Linked DNA regions of Homo sapiens: all the other regions are linked to region 1. Evidence: promoter capture Hi-C in human tissues and cell types (Jung and others, 2019). All regions are on one chromosome and are shown on one strand. The core of a region is centred on a gene start or on the middle of the fragment in contact, and the rest is flanking DNA. Distances in the headings are between cores, read along the strand shown.

What was found. The method cuts DNA at HindIII sites, captures the fragments that hold promoters and counts their contacts. A contact is called where the count stands out against the background at its distance.
Region 2: a fragment that was not itself captured here is called in contact with the fragment with the promoter of RNFT2 in region 1 in 1 of the 25 tissues and cell types used here (spleen).
Region 3: a fragment that was not itself captured here is called in contact with the fragment with the promoter of RNFT2 in region 1 in 1 of the 25 tissues and cell types used here (spleen).
Region 4: a contact is called between a fragment that was not itself captured here and the fragment with the promoter of RNFT2 in region 1, in 1 of the 25 tissues and cell types used here (thymus).

What each region holds. Positions count from the first base shown.
Region 1 is chr12:116,736,609-116,739,938 of GRCh38, reverse strand. RNFT2 (ring finger protein, transmembrane 2) reads right to left here and starts at 1,624. Exons shown (of 11, transcript NM_001382266.1): 1 at 1,569-1,624. It overlaps SPRING1 (SREBF pathway regulator in golgi 1), which reads left to right and starts at 1,870. Exons shown (of 5, transcript NM_024738.4): 1 at 1,870-2,149. The coding sequence starts at 2,039. RefSeq lists enhancers at 1,342-1,601, 2,370-3,328 and silencers at 1,792-2,051, 2,132-2,181. The HindIII fragment of the contact is 23,901 bases long and covers 1-3,330 here.
Region 2 is chr12:117,196,599-117,199,928 of GRCh38, reverse strand. No RefSeq gene overlaps it. Among named protein-coding and RNA genes, the nearest start is that of FBXO21, 7.8 kb to the right of the region's middle. The HindIII fragment of the contact is 3,668 bases long and covers 9-3,330 here.
Region 3 is chr12:117,023,082-117,026,411 of GRCh38, reverse strand. FBXW8 (F-box and WD repeat domain containing 8) reads right to left here. Exons shown (of 11, transcript NM_153348.3): 9 at 2,092-2,265. Among named protein-coding and RNA genes, the nearest start is that of TESC, 75 kb to the left of the region's middle. RefSeq lists enhancers at 697-1,232, 1,233-1,768, 1,088-2,287. The HindIII fragment of the contact is 3,500 bases long and covers 1-3,330 here.
Region 4 is chr12:117,000,436-117,003,765 of GRCh38, reverse strand. The region is part of intron 7 of FBXW8 (F-box and WD repeat domain containing 8); the gene reads right to left. Among named protein-coding and RNA genes, the nearest start is that of FBXW8, 91 kb to the right of the region's middle. The HindIII fragment of the contact is 4,366 bases long and covers 1-3,330 here.

The DNA of each region.
Region 1 (3,330 bases), core at 375-2,874:
CCACCATGCCCGGCCCTCTTTGAAACTCTTAAGGTATTGTATTTCATCCTATTGTCAAACTAAGAGTCCTGATTGGGGAAGCCAGAAAATATGTTTTAAACCCTCCAACGGCTGCCCAGTGCAATCAGAATCAAACCCGAGCTCTGTCCATAGCCTACGGGTTCTTCCTGATGTAGCATCATCTGTTTCCAACTGCATTTCCTCCCATTCTCCCTTTTCCCACTCCTGTCCACCCACAGTGGCCCTTCTGTTCCTCTAATGTGTCAGCGTGTCCCTGCCTCAGGGCCTTTGCACTTGCTGTGCCCTCCCCTTGGAATACTTTCTCCTCTAAATGTGGCAGGGCTTGGTCCCGCAGGGCAAATGTCGTCTCTTCCCAGAGGCCTTCTCTTCTCATTCTCCTGACTCCCCGTAATATTGCCCTGTTTTATATTATTCATAGCACTTATTTGTTCATGTTTGCTTATTTATTTATGATTTGTCCTCCCCATTAGAATATAAATGCCATTCCTGAAAGTAGGGATCCTGTCTACTTGGATCACCCCTCTGCCTCAGCATCCAGGACACTGTTTGGCACAGAGTGGCGCTCAACAAGTATTTACTCAATGAATAAAACATCTATGGGTCTCCCAGTTCCCCTTTTCTAGATCCCTTGCTCCCTGTCCCACCTTTCACCCTAGCAAGGTAATAAGGGCCATCTACTTCCCATGAAAAGGTTTAGCCTCCGTGAATATCTTCTTGTCTCTGGAGGCAGAGCCAATATTGTGGATATAGGGTGTCTATATCAGTCAGATGGTGTCTGACTTCAGTTTAGGGCACGATTATTGGCTGTTGAATGACTTCCTAATCCTGACCAGGCTTCTTGAGGGGGCAGCAATGGTGTCACTAGGGCCACTGATTAAAAATGACCCGCCAGTGAAGCCTCCTTTCTCTTTTGAAAAATTAGGTAACAAACCGGTCAGCAGCAGCATCTTCATATATCAAGAAAAGGTCATTATATAAATATTTTTCAAGAATTTGCAATCTCAACTTAATCCTCCTCTCGCCCCTCCCTCCATTATCCCACATTGCAAATCCTTGGGGGAAAATAAAATTCATATTCCAAAGTTCTCATCCACACATTTAACTCCTAAATCGAATGCTCGAAACTCTACTTTCGGATGCTTGTATTGGAAGAGGCTTCGGATTCTTTGTCGGAAGCAGGCCGTACATAATTCTGGAATAAATTTTTGCACGCGGGATGCATCTGAATGAATGAAACGCTTTTTAATCCTCTGCTCTGTACATCCCACTATGTCCCTTTGAAGGACCGCACCGAGACTTTTCGATGCTTGCGATGGTTCAAGTTGCGCCCCTGGGGCCCGTTACAGGACTGCACCGAAATGCACTCAGAGGAGCATCGCCTGCATCACTTGGACTGGAAGCCGGCAGGTGCACTTCGGGAACAACGTCGCGAGCGCTTTTCATCCCTGCAACCAACACACAGCGCAAAACGCTCTGGGACTGCAAGGGCAGGAGACTACACAGACCATGATGGGAGAAAAGAAAAAAAAATCGCGTTCTCTTTTTACCTGCCCAGACAATTCAGCAATCACAGCCGCATCATTCAGGTCCAGCCAAGCCAATCACCCGCGCAGCCTGGGCAGCATGTGACTTCCGATGCTTCCGGCCTCCTATTGGGTGGTTTCTTGGCGTCGCCGGGTCCGGCGCTAGGACCCGGGCACAGCTACGCCCGCAGCACTCACGCGATTGTCCGCCCCCTTTCCCGGCACTTAACCAATAGGAGGCCGCCGTTCCTTAGGGACCAATGGTGAGAAGATCTTGCGCGACTAGCCCTTGTCGCTGCGGAGCGGAGGCGGGGCGTAGGGCGGGGTCACGTGGGGCTGCGCCCAAGGCTGCCGGGAGCAGACTGGGCTGCGGGCGGCGGGGCCGGCGCCTGCCTGGAGGGATGGGGCTGCCGGGCGCGTAGGGGCCATGCCGCCCGGGACCCGGGCCTGCCGCGTTCCGCGCCCCGGCCGCCGCGCCCCACGTCCGCGCCGGGATGGTGAACCTGGCGGCCATGGTGTGGCGCCGGCTTCTGCGGAAGAGGTGGGTGCTCGCCCTGGTCTTCGGGCTGTCGCTCGTCTACTTCCTCAGCAGCACCTTCAAGCAGGTCAGTGGCCGCCCTTCCCCTCCTCCCCTTCCCTTCTTCCTTCCTTCCTCCCCCTTACTTTACTTTCTCCTTCCTTCCTTCGTTACCTTCCTCCTTTTTTCCTTCCTCCCTGTCTTCCTACCCCTTCCCTTCCTTTCTTTCTCCCCTTCCCTTCCTTCCTCCTTCCTTCCCTTCTTCCTACCTCCCCTCCTTCCTTATCTTCCTCCTTCCTTCCCCTCTCCCTGCCTCCCTTCCTTCCTTACCTTCCTCACCTTCCTCCTCCTTCCTTCCTCCCCCTTTCCTTCCTCCCCCTTCCCTTTCTTCTTTCCTCCCCTTTTTCCTCTCCCTTCCCTTCCGTCTTTCTTCCTTCCCTTCCTCCTTCCGTCCTCCTCCTTTCTGTCCCCCTCTCCCTTCCTTCTTCCTTTACTCCCTTTCTTCCCTGACATCCTCTTTCCTCACTTCGTTCTTCCTCCTTCCTTCCCTTCCTCCTCTTTTTCCTTACTCCTCGCGTTTGTCCGACCTCCCGACTTCTGCAGCGGCGCCGCCGGGGCGTCCGAGGGTGGGGAGAGGTGCGCATTCCTGTCCCGGTCTCAGCACGGGTGAGGGACCTGCCCACCGCCTTGGTCCCTGCAGCGGGAAGGGGTTGCTAGGCCAGGGCAGAGCTGGGACTAGAACCCCGAGTTGAGGACCCTTCAGCGGTGGGGACTGCTTTTATGAACACCTCCCTGCTTTTCACCTGCCCGGTCCAGAGCTAAGAGAGGGCGTGCATTTGCTGGCTTCATCTTCGCAGCAGGCCTGGGAGAAGTGGGGTTCCCAGTATTACAGTGGGGGAAACCAAGACATAGGTGGCGAGGGTCGGCCAGCCCTCGCATGGGTGCCCTTCGTTTAATTTGGGGGCTCTGTGTCCTCCTGGGTGACTCAAAAGGACCCACAGTTCCTTTTATGCTTTTTGTGCATAACTTGATTGGTAGAATTCCACCCCTCCAACACACTGCACCCTTTCATTTTTCTTCCATGTGAGAATTTCTGGGAGAAACAGCAAGGAGCACGGGTGGGGAAATCTTACCCAAAGCATTAATAAGTTTGTCTAGAAGTCCAGGTTGAGTGCTTAGTTGTGTAGAAAGGGTGGTTACACCCCAGGGTGCACCCAGGATAATGGGTTATGCTGTTGTCCTGACATGGTTATAAAAAGCTCTCCTTTT
Region 2 (3,330 bases), core at 593-3,092, 460 kb before region 1:
AAAGTGTCTCTGCAGGACAACATGAGATGTCCTCGATGTACGTTCAATAACTATTTCAGCAAAACTGAGCAGAAGCTGTGTTTTCATAGAAGTTGCCTTCTTTTTTTTTTTTTTTTTTTTTTTTTTTTTTTGTTTGAGACAAGCTCTCGCTCTATCACCCAGGCTGGATTGTAGTGGCGTGATCATGGCTCACTGCAGCCTCGACCTCCTAGGCTCAAATGATCCTCCCACCTTAGCCTCTCAAAGTCCTGAGATTATAGGCATGAGCCACCCCGCCCAGCTGAGGTTGCCTTTTTTTTTTTTTTTTTTTTTTTGAGACAGAGTCTCAATCTGTTGCCCAGGCTGGCGTGCAGTGGCATGATCTTGGCTCACTGCAACATCCACCTCCCAGGTTCAAACAATTCTGCTGCCTCAGCCTCCCGAGTATCTGGGATTATAGGCATGTGCCACCACACCCTGCTAATTTTTTTTTTTTTTTTTTTTTTTTGGTATTTTTTAGTAGAGACAGGGTTTCACCATGTTGGCAAGGTTGGCCTTGAACTCCTGACCTCAGGTGATCCACCCACCTCGGCCTCTCAGAATGCTGGCATTACAGGCGTGAGCCACTGTGCCCAGCCAGTTGCTATATTATAGAAAGAGATTTGATGGAAGTGATGAAGCTTAACTTTAAGGCCCCTCCCTTGGAAAGATCCCTCCCTTCCAAGGCCACTTATTTTCTCATTCTACATACTCTTTCTAGTACTCTTGTGTACTTGTGAATTCATCCTTGTGTATCTCTTTTCTAAAACAGGGCCTCCAGGCCAGGTGTGATGGCGCACACCTGTAATCCCAGCACTTTGGGAGACCGAGGCAGGCAGATCACTTGAGGTCAGGAGTTTGAGACCAGTCTGGCCAACATGGTGAAACACCATCTCTACCAAAAATATAAAAATTAGTTGGGCATGATGATGTGTGCCTATAGTCCCAGCTACTTGGGAGGCTGAGGTGAGAGAATCGCTTAAACCTGGGAGGCGGAGGTTGCAGTAAGCCAAGATCACGCCATTGCACTCCAGCCTGGGCTACAGAGCGAGACTTACAGTCTAGCCTAGGCAACAGAGCAAGACTCCGTCTTAAAATAAAATACAATAAAATAGGGCCTCCAAACAGCGTAAGCTCCGGGCTCCACTAAACCCAGATCTGCCCCTGCGGGAGGGTGAATCTAGTAATCATGGCCATGTATGCATTCCTACAGTTTGTGAGTGTGTACTGAATGAAAGGCATAGGGTTCTGAGAAGGCACAAGGCAGAAGGAGCTTGCCTAGCCTGGGTTCATGGACTTGTGTTCCTACAGAGGAGCACTTGAGCAGAAATCTGAAAGATGAGTAGGTGTGGCTGAGGAGGCACTCCTGGGAAAAGGAACCGTATCAGCAAAGGCCCTCAGGTGGGCAGAGAAGTGGACCAGAAAAGAAAGGATGTAAGTACTAATTATGAGGACAAGGAACACTGTAGGGACTAAGGGAAACTTCCCCTTTGCCCTCAGAAGTTTCACTGAAAAATCAACTCACAAAAGGCAGATTAATAAGAGAAAAGGCCTTTGGGAGGCCAAGGCAGGAGGATTGCTTGAAGCCAGGTATTCAAAACCAGCCTGGGCAACAGTGCAAGCTCCCATCTCTATAAAAATTTTTTTTTAAATAGCCAGGCATAGGCCAGGCGCGATGGCTCACGCCTGTAATCCCAGCATTTTGGGAGGCCGAAGCAGCTGGATCACCTGAGGTCAGGAGTTCAAGATCAGCCTGGCCAACATGGTGAAACCCCGTCTCTACTAAAAATACAAAAAAATTAGCTGGGTGTGGTGGCAGACATCTGTAATCCCAGCTACTCAGGAGGCTGAGGCAGGAGGATTGCTTGAACCCAAGAGGTGGAGGTTGCAGTGAGCCAAGATCACACCACTGCACTCCAGTCTGGGCAACAAGAGCGAAACTCTATCTCAAAAAATAAAATAGCCAGGCATGGTGGCACACACGTGTAGTCCCAGTTACTTGGGAGGCTGAGCCAGGAGGATGGCTTCATCCCAGAAGTTCAAGGCTGCAGTGAGCTATTACTGCTCTACTGCACTCCAGTCTGGTCAACAGAGCAAGACCCTGTCTCCAAAACAAAAAGAGAGAGAAAGAGAGAATGGGCATACAAATTTATGAACATGCACACGGAAGAGGCCCACCAAAAGATTACTCACCTCCCCGCTGCCATGGAGTTTGGAAACTTATTAACATCTTAAAATTACAGAAAGAATGGGAGCTTGGATCTTGGCAAAACAGGTGTGGACAGTGTTGAGGGTAGTTGAAATGGTATCTGCGGCTAGATTGTGGAGATTTCACTGGAGAGGGGTGTTGACCTCGCCAGCCAAAAATAACGAGAAATTCATCTGTAGTCCAACAAAGATAAGTTTTTACCTTGCTGCAGCAAGGGAGAGGCCACCCTAGAGGACCACTGGGAAGCCAGGGAGGAGGGATCCCAGAGGGACTTATTCTAGGATTTGAGTTTGTGCAGGGTGATTTTAGCAGGGACTGTGGGATAGAGCAGGAACTCCCAAGCATGGAAATGAAGAAAAATTTTGAGTTCCTTCAAGGGAAATTCCAGGCACCTCGCTAGTAATTCCAGGCACCTTGCTGAGAAGTAAATGAGTGACTTGATAAGCAAGAAGGTAATAGTAGCTCAAAACACTAGCAAGAAAGTTAGAATCATGGGATGTCTGGTTCGCTTACAGAAACTAAGGATAGTGTCTTAACACACGTCTGTGGGTTGTTTTTCAGGATCCCAGACCCCCACCAAACAGACCCACTGGCCGTAGACCTCACATAAAGAGAAACTGAGGACCGAACCCTGACCACTGTTTTTTGTTCTAAATTTCTTCCTGTGGGGTCTAGAGGAGATCACGGCTACCAGCCAGAGCTAACATTCTTTACTGCAAATCTCAATTTTTTTAGACAAAGCTTCACCTCCTTAACCAAATACAAGTCAAAAAATCTTTGAATCCAGGGCCCTGCACAGTGGCTAACGCCTGTAATCCCAGCACTTTGGGAGGCCAAAGCGGGCGGCTCACAAGGTCAAGAGATCGAGACCATCTTGACCAACATGGTGAAACCCCGTCTCTACTAAAAATGCAAAAAATTAGCTGGGTGTGGTGGCGTGCGCCTGTAGTCCCAGCTACAGAGACTGAGGCAGGAGAATCACTTGAACCCAGGAGGCAGAGGTAGAAGTGAGCTGAAATCGTGCCACTGCACTCCAGCCTGGCGACAGAGTGAGACTGTGTCTCAAAAAAACAAAAAACAAAAAACACAACAACAAAAAACCT
Region 3 (3,330 bases), core at 337-2,836, 290 kb before region 1:
GCAGGCTTGGTGGAGGCCTGCAGCCTGGAGGACTGAAGGAAAGTGTTGGTGGACCTGGCATGGGACCTGGAGGATGAGAAAGACCCGGGGAGGGAGGGCAGGCTTGGTGGAGGCCTGCAGCCTGGAGGACTGAAGGAAAGTGTTGGTGGACCTGGCATGGGACCTGGAGGATGAGAAAGACCCGGGGAGGGAGGGCAGGCTTGGTGGAGGCCTGCAGCCTGGAGGACTGACGGCACCCTGTCAGGCAGGCGAGGACCTGGGCTGAAGAGACTGAAGCGGACAGCGGGAGGTACATGACAGTGACCAAACAACAGCCAGACTGGGGCCTGGCAGCAGGCACTGCAGGTGAGGCCTTGAGCAAGTCAGTGAGTTCTGGGCAGGAGACCATGTGTCTGTCAGCCTTGTGCTGGTGAAAACAGTGACCACGTGGGGGACAAGCCTGGACCGCACAGGGACAGAGGCAGTGCTGGGACAGGGCCACACCTCTGGGGAAGGCCTTCCTTAGCTAGGCTTCATCTCAGTGGCCTGTCCCAGGGAGTGAAGCTTTGCTGAGAGAAAAATGAGATCTACTGGAGTTGGGGGCTGGCAGCCATCCCTGAGGACCTGGATGGCTGATCCAGGGTTTTCCTCAAAGGCAATGCTTCCGGGAATTTCAGTGCGGGAGTTTTAGTTGCCGTTTGGCACCACCTGGTGGCAATTCAGTGCATCACCATTCAGAAAAAGGGCCGAGGCGCCCTCAACAGGCACAGCCACAGCGAGGGGGCGGGCCAGGCAGTACCCAGGGCTCTGTCTGATAAAATGTGCCGGCCACAGTGTTTGCCAACACTGCCCTCCAAGGAAGAAGCCCATTCTGCATGTAACCCTGCCGCCTCTTGGAGACACCTGTCAAATTGCTGACCTTGCACTTCCATAAAGACCATGTCGCTGCTCAGAGGTTGTGTTCTCAGAGGTCGGTTTACCTTGATTTGCGGTAAGTGGGGAACAAATCTTAGTTCCTGTGGGAGGGCCTTGCCCTGTTTCTGCTCTTCTATGTTGTCATGCTCAGAGGCCACTGGCCCAGAATCATCTCGGTTTTGTAGAGATGGGGTTTCATTCTGTCACCCAGGCTGGAGTACAGTGACACAGTCACTGCAGCCTCAAACCCCTGGCCTTGAGAGCTCCTCAGTCTCCTGAGTAGCTGGGATTACAGGTGAGCCACGTGTCTGGCCGAATGTCTCTTCACAGTGGTGCTGAGGGCAGCAAGCGAGAGGGCCGGCTGCCTTTCTCCCCACCTGTCTCAAACGCAGGGTCTCCTGTTCGAGGCCTGCAGGGCCAGGTAGAGGTGGTGGCAGGTGGGCTCAAGTCAGCTCTGATGAGCCAGCCCTGGGCTGGGCTGCTGCTTTGAAGGTCAGAAGCAGGCTCACTGGAAATGTCTTAACCAGTTAGGTGCCACTGGCGTAAACCTACCTACCTCTGTGACGCCATCAGCCTGTGCTTAGGATAGTATTTATTTATATTTTGAATAGTGGTGTTAAAGGTGGAAATGACAAATTCCTCCTTCGTTGGAGCCTGAACCCCTTCAGTCCTAAGTGCTCTTCTCTGTAAACAGCATGAGGAAAGTCTAAGCAACGGGCAGAACCATGGTTACACATGACGGACTCGAGTGGAGGACAGCAGCTGGGCCAGCCCTGCCTTCCACCTGTGGGCAGGTGGGGTGTCACATCCTGGTCTAGCCCAGCGAGCTTCCTATGTTTTTGAGTTCCCTTTTCTGTTTATTAAGATGGAGAAATCCTAAAATAATCAGAATAGCACTTGCAAAAAAGTAGTTTCATTCTTAGAGAAAGCTGGGCCTGGCTAATGTAGGAATTGTGGCGATCTGAATGATGTCAGAGACAGGAACTGCATCCCCACTGACCAGCGCCATTTCCAAGCCTGTTTCCTCCTCTGCAGAGCGGTGCTGGGACAGCAGCTGGCTCCTAGGGTCACAGTAAGGATTCACCTGGCGAAGCCGGGGGGTAGGGGGCATTTAGCACCGTGCCTGGTGCAGGCTGATTAGTGCTGCCTTCCCTGTTCCTACTAGGAACTCCCAAGAGTGTCTAGAATGCACCTTACCCGGAATACACCTCCCACAGCTTCTGGTTCATCCGATAATCCCACACGGACACCAGGCCTTCCTCGCCTCCACTGACGATCTTCCAGTCATCCATCTGCACAGCAGAGACCCTGAGCTGATGGGCGGAGAGCGACAGGGCGATGTTACCACTGCGGAGGTCGTGGATCCTCACCCTGGACAGGCCCAGGAAGAGCAGAGAAGGGAAATGGGGTTAGAGTCAAAGCTTCAAATGACAAACTCCCCCTCCACGGTGCTGGTCTATGCACAACACTGCTATGAAAAACTCCTCAGCTGCAAACAAACATCGATAATAAGGACATCAAGCACAGACTGTCAGGGAGGACCCACACGGTCTCATCTGAATGGTTTAAAAGCACATGGAGCAAGAAAGACGCAGGCCAAGGACAGTGGCTGCCCACTTTACCTGCTTAACAGGGAAAAGCCACCTGCATGACTGCATGCGCAGGTTGGCCTGAGACGCCTGTCCCAGCAGTAGGTGTACTGCCCAGCACAGTAATTTTGCTGTTGGTAAAATAACCTGTTAAAGGCAAGAGCTACAAAGCCAGACACCCCAGATCCTAACCGGGTGAGGACCCGGTTAGGAAAAGAACACTTTTTGGGTATTTCACTTGACTTTGTAAGTTCATTGCTGTCTTGCTGGAACTGAGAAAGGGAAAGCCTTTATCCTTGATAAGCACAGCAGAGCGGGGATAAGGGTGTGTGTACCCTGGGCAGTCACTTATTGAAATAATTACTTGCCTTATAATAATCCCCATTTCTTTAAGAACCTCTTTAAAAACTACTTTTTATGTATGTGGAATTTTTCACGAGGATAAATTAGATAATGGGACAGAAATCTCGTATCCACTACAAACACCACCCTACTTGGTTTCTACAATAAGCCAAAGGCTAAAAGTAAATCAAATTCATTACATTTAATAAATGTAAAGATGAGCTTAAGAGACCCTGTGATGCAAGTCGAAAAGGAAAAGACAGTCCCTGCCCTGAAAAGAAAGACCCCAGCATCTAGCAAGGAACAGGACAAGCACAAGGATGTAAGATTAAAAACGCACGTCTGACCCAAAAGCTGTGGAGCGACAGGATTCTCTGAAACATGTCCCGTGCCCTGACTCTAGTTATGCAAGCATGCGCACACACGTCAATTTTCCAAGTTCTGAGGGAAAATTATTTTGAACCAACAATTCTATACCTAGCTTAGCTACCAAGTGTGAAGGCAT
Region 4 (3,330 bases), core at 423-2,922, 260 kb before region 1:
ACCAGTCATATCCTCAAAGGCTGAGCAAAAATAACTGTCAAGCTAGAACTGTAAAAGACTAGCAAAACTACCTTTCAAGGATAAGGATGAAATGAAGGTGCTGTAAGAAAGAAACACGGAAAACACTTGTGACCAAGTCCTTATGAAAGAAACTTCTAAAGAATGCACTTTTGGGAGACAGAAAATCATTCCAGAAAAAAGGTCTGAGGTGCTGGAAGAAATAGTCAACAAAGATTCAAGTAATGAGCATAAAAGAATCCAGATGCTGTCTGCAAAAACAATGTTGATTTGGGGGTTAAATACATAGAATAATCTGTACCTAGTCTTTATTCCAACCAGTCAAATGCCATGAATCAGGAAAAAGTACCATAACCATGGAAGATGCCAGATGCCCAGGGTGCGCCCCCCGCACTGTCTGGAAGGAACAGAAGCTCCTTTGGATACCTGTGCAGTGTTTGGCACATAGGAGGGGCTCAGTATACAGGTGATGAAAGAATGAGCAGATGAATACACACTGTACATGTCTGCGTGTATCTACCCCTTACAGGCGACTGCTATGCTGGCCTTACAGTAAAGACAGGCTTCACGCATACAAATGAACACACAAAGTCGATTTGCTGTCCACCAACTGCAATGTATACAGCTGTTTGCTAAGTGCCAGGTACACTTTTATTCAGTACAGATCTTCACATACAAGACTAGTGATGCTCCTTTTTAAAAAACAAAAGATACAAAAGAAAAAGTCCTATACATCTTCATGGTAGAATTTACTCACATAAACGACCCACATTGCTATTCTGACCCAACAAAAGTAAGATCCACAGAAACGTGGAATTGAACTACAAAAATGCAAGGTGTGCCTATCAACGTTCATGCACAAAGCTAGGTGAACAGTCTCTATAAATTCACAGATGAGCTAAGACTTTAAAAAAACAGGAATGAGAAAGATAGACAACTGGGGAGAGGGGGAGCCAGTGACAAAAGAGTAAATCATACACAAAACAGCCAATAAAAAAATAAAAATGCAGTTAATATACATGAATAATGGATGTCTGATTTAAAAGCAGTTTACTCCGATATGATGTAATTTTTGACAATCAGCCAGAGAGACTATTTTGTAAGTCCTTGCCAGAGATAAGTCATAGCGTGAGGCTTGGTAACACGGCCGTATCTGTGAACATGTGGAAAATGACTTTCACCACCATCCCAAAGGTGACTTTCTGTTGGCAAACAGAAGCTTGCCTTTCAGGTGCACTTCGCAGCAGCAACCGGCAAGATGCAAATCTTGAAGAAATGGATCCCTGACCCCCTCAACGTTCCCTGCAACATGGCACCCCTTAACAGTCTCCACGACATGCTTCTGGCACCGTCCATGCTCAAATTCAGCACAAAGGGAGAAGCAGCCTGAGCCGCTTTCATGTTTAAGTTTTAATTGGAGTGACAAGCCCACGAGGCCAAGATATTTCAGGGATGGGACGGTGTTGCTGAGCGTCGCCAGGCGCTGGGTAGGCAAGGCCTGTGTGCGCTCCCCACCACCACGTGCCAATGCACCTGCAACCCCCGCTGTTCCAGGACTGGACTCTTCCCGGGCAGGCAGTGCCAACTGCTGCGGGCTGTGCCAAACATGGGGGCTTTGTGATGTGGGCAGATGTCTACAAAGGACCGGAGTGAGGCCAAACCAACACCTATTGTGACCTAAGCCTGAAAGGAACCCACAGAGCAAGAGTACACTCGGGTACAAATCCAGGCAAAAACCATCCAAACCGGCCAATCTCTCTCTCTCAGCACGTCCGTAGGTGCTGGGAATAATAAAGGAAGGCCAGGCCTACTTTGTGGAGTGAGCAGAATATGGTTCTCTCTTTGCTTTGGGATCATTTTTGTCTCAGTGCTGGTGTAAGGGTAAGAAATGTGATCATGAAGACCTGGTTAATGCTCACATAACACAAACAGGGAATATTCATGTCAGAGCAGTGAGTCCAGCGAAGAGATGATAACCATCGTGCAAATGTATGACTGACTGGGAGCTGAAAATCCTTACACCCTCCTTCATGCTCCCAACAGGCCTCATCCCCACAGAGAGCATGGGCAGTGTCAAAATGCCAGGAACACTGACACACGGAAATAATCACCAAGAGAAGGTTATAATATCTATCTTACGGAGTGAAAACTGAGGCTGCAAACTATGAAGTGAACTCTTTAAAATTAAAGGCAACTTGCATACTATTTTGAAAATGAAAAGGTTACCATGAGATGCTCATAATGTACAAGTATCTGTATGCCGACAGGACTTAGTGAACATTGCACATGAAATTCAGTATATTACACTAGCTTGGTTATCGATTTTCTTTTGACTAGCCTGGCAACTTCTAGTTTGGCCCAAAGTTAGACTGGACAAAAGCTTCTAGAAGAGGGCAGGCAGGCAGCTAAAATCAGATCACTGAAACAAATAGCCCCAGGGGGAGACTGGGAAGCCGCAGCGAATAATCAGGGCCTTTGGTGGAGGGCAGCAGGTCCACCCAGGGGCTCCCCCCAGCTCCCTAAGGCATAACGGCCTCTACTCACTCTACATGGTGCATGAGGTATTGGCAGAGACATGCTTAGCAGCATTTTGCACATAAACAAACACTACACATATGAGCTCTTTGTAATACCCAGGACATGCCTTTCACACAAATTCCTTCGGAATATCCTTCCATTTGAATCTCACAACCACCAAGAGGGAGAGAAGACAAATACTACTGCCTACATTTTGTGCATCAAGAAACTGAGGCTTAAATAATTTTAAGTAGCTTGCCCCAAATTACATGGGCAACAAAAGGAGCTGAGGTGGCACTAGGTGGAGCGCAGCTCGTGTCATTCCTGCGCCACTTTGTGACCATATCACAATGTCTTTCCTGTCCTACCAAAATAGTTATTAATAACAGCTAATATTTATAATATTCTCTTACATGCAAAACACTGCTATGATGCGTTATCTCACCTGACCTCCACAGTGCTGTAAGATAGGTACCATGATTTTACTCCCTTTACACAGGAGAATATGGGGCCCTAAGGAGCTCAAACCTCTTGCCCAGTTAGGAAGTTTTGGCACCAGGATTCAAACCTGGGTGGGTGGTATCAAAGCTCATACTCTTTAAACCTCTACCCCAGGGTGCTCAAAGTGTGGTCCCAGGACTAGCAGCCTCCGCTGCTCTGGGCACTTGTTAGACATGCAAATTCTCAGGCCCCACCCTCGACCCACTGAGTCGGAAGCTCCGGGGGTGGGGCCAGTGCTCAGTGTTTTCATCAGGTCTCCTGTAGATTCTGATGCATGCTGGCATGTGAGAACCC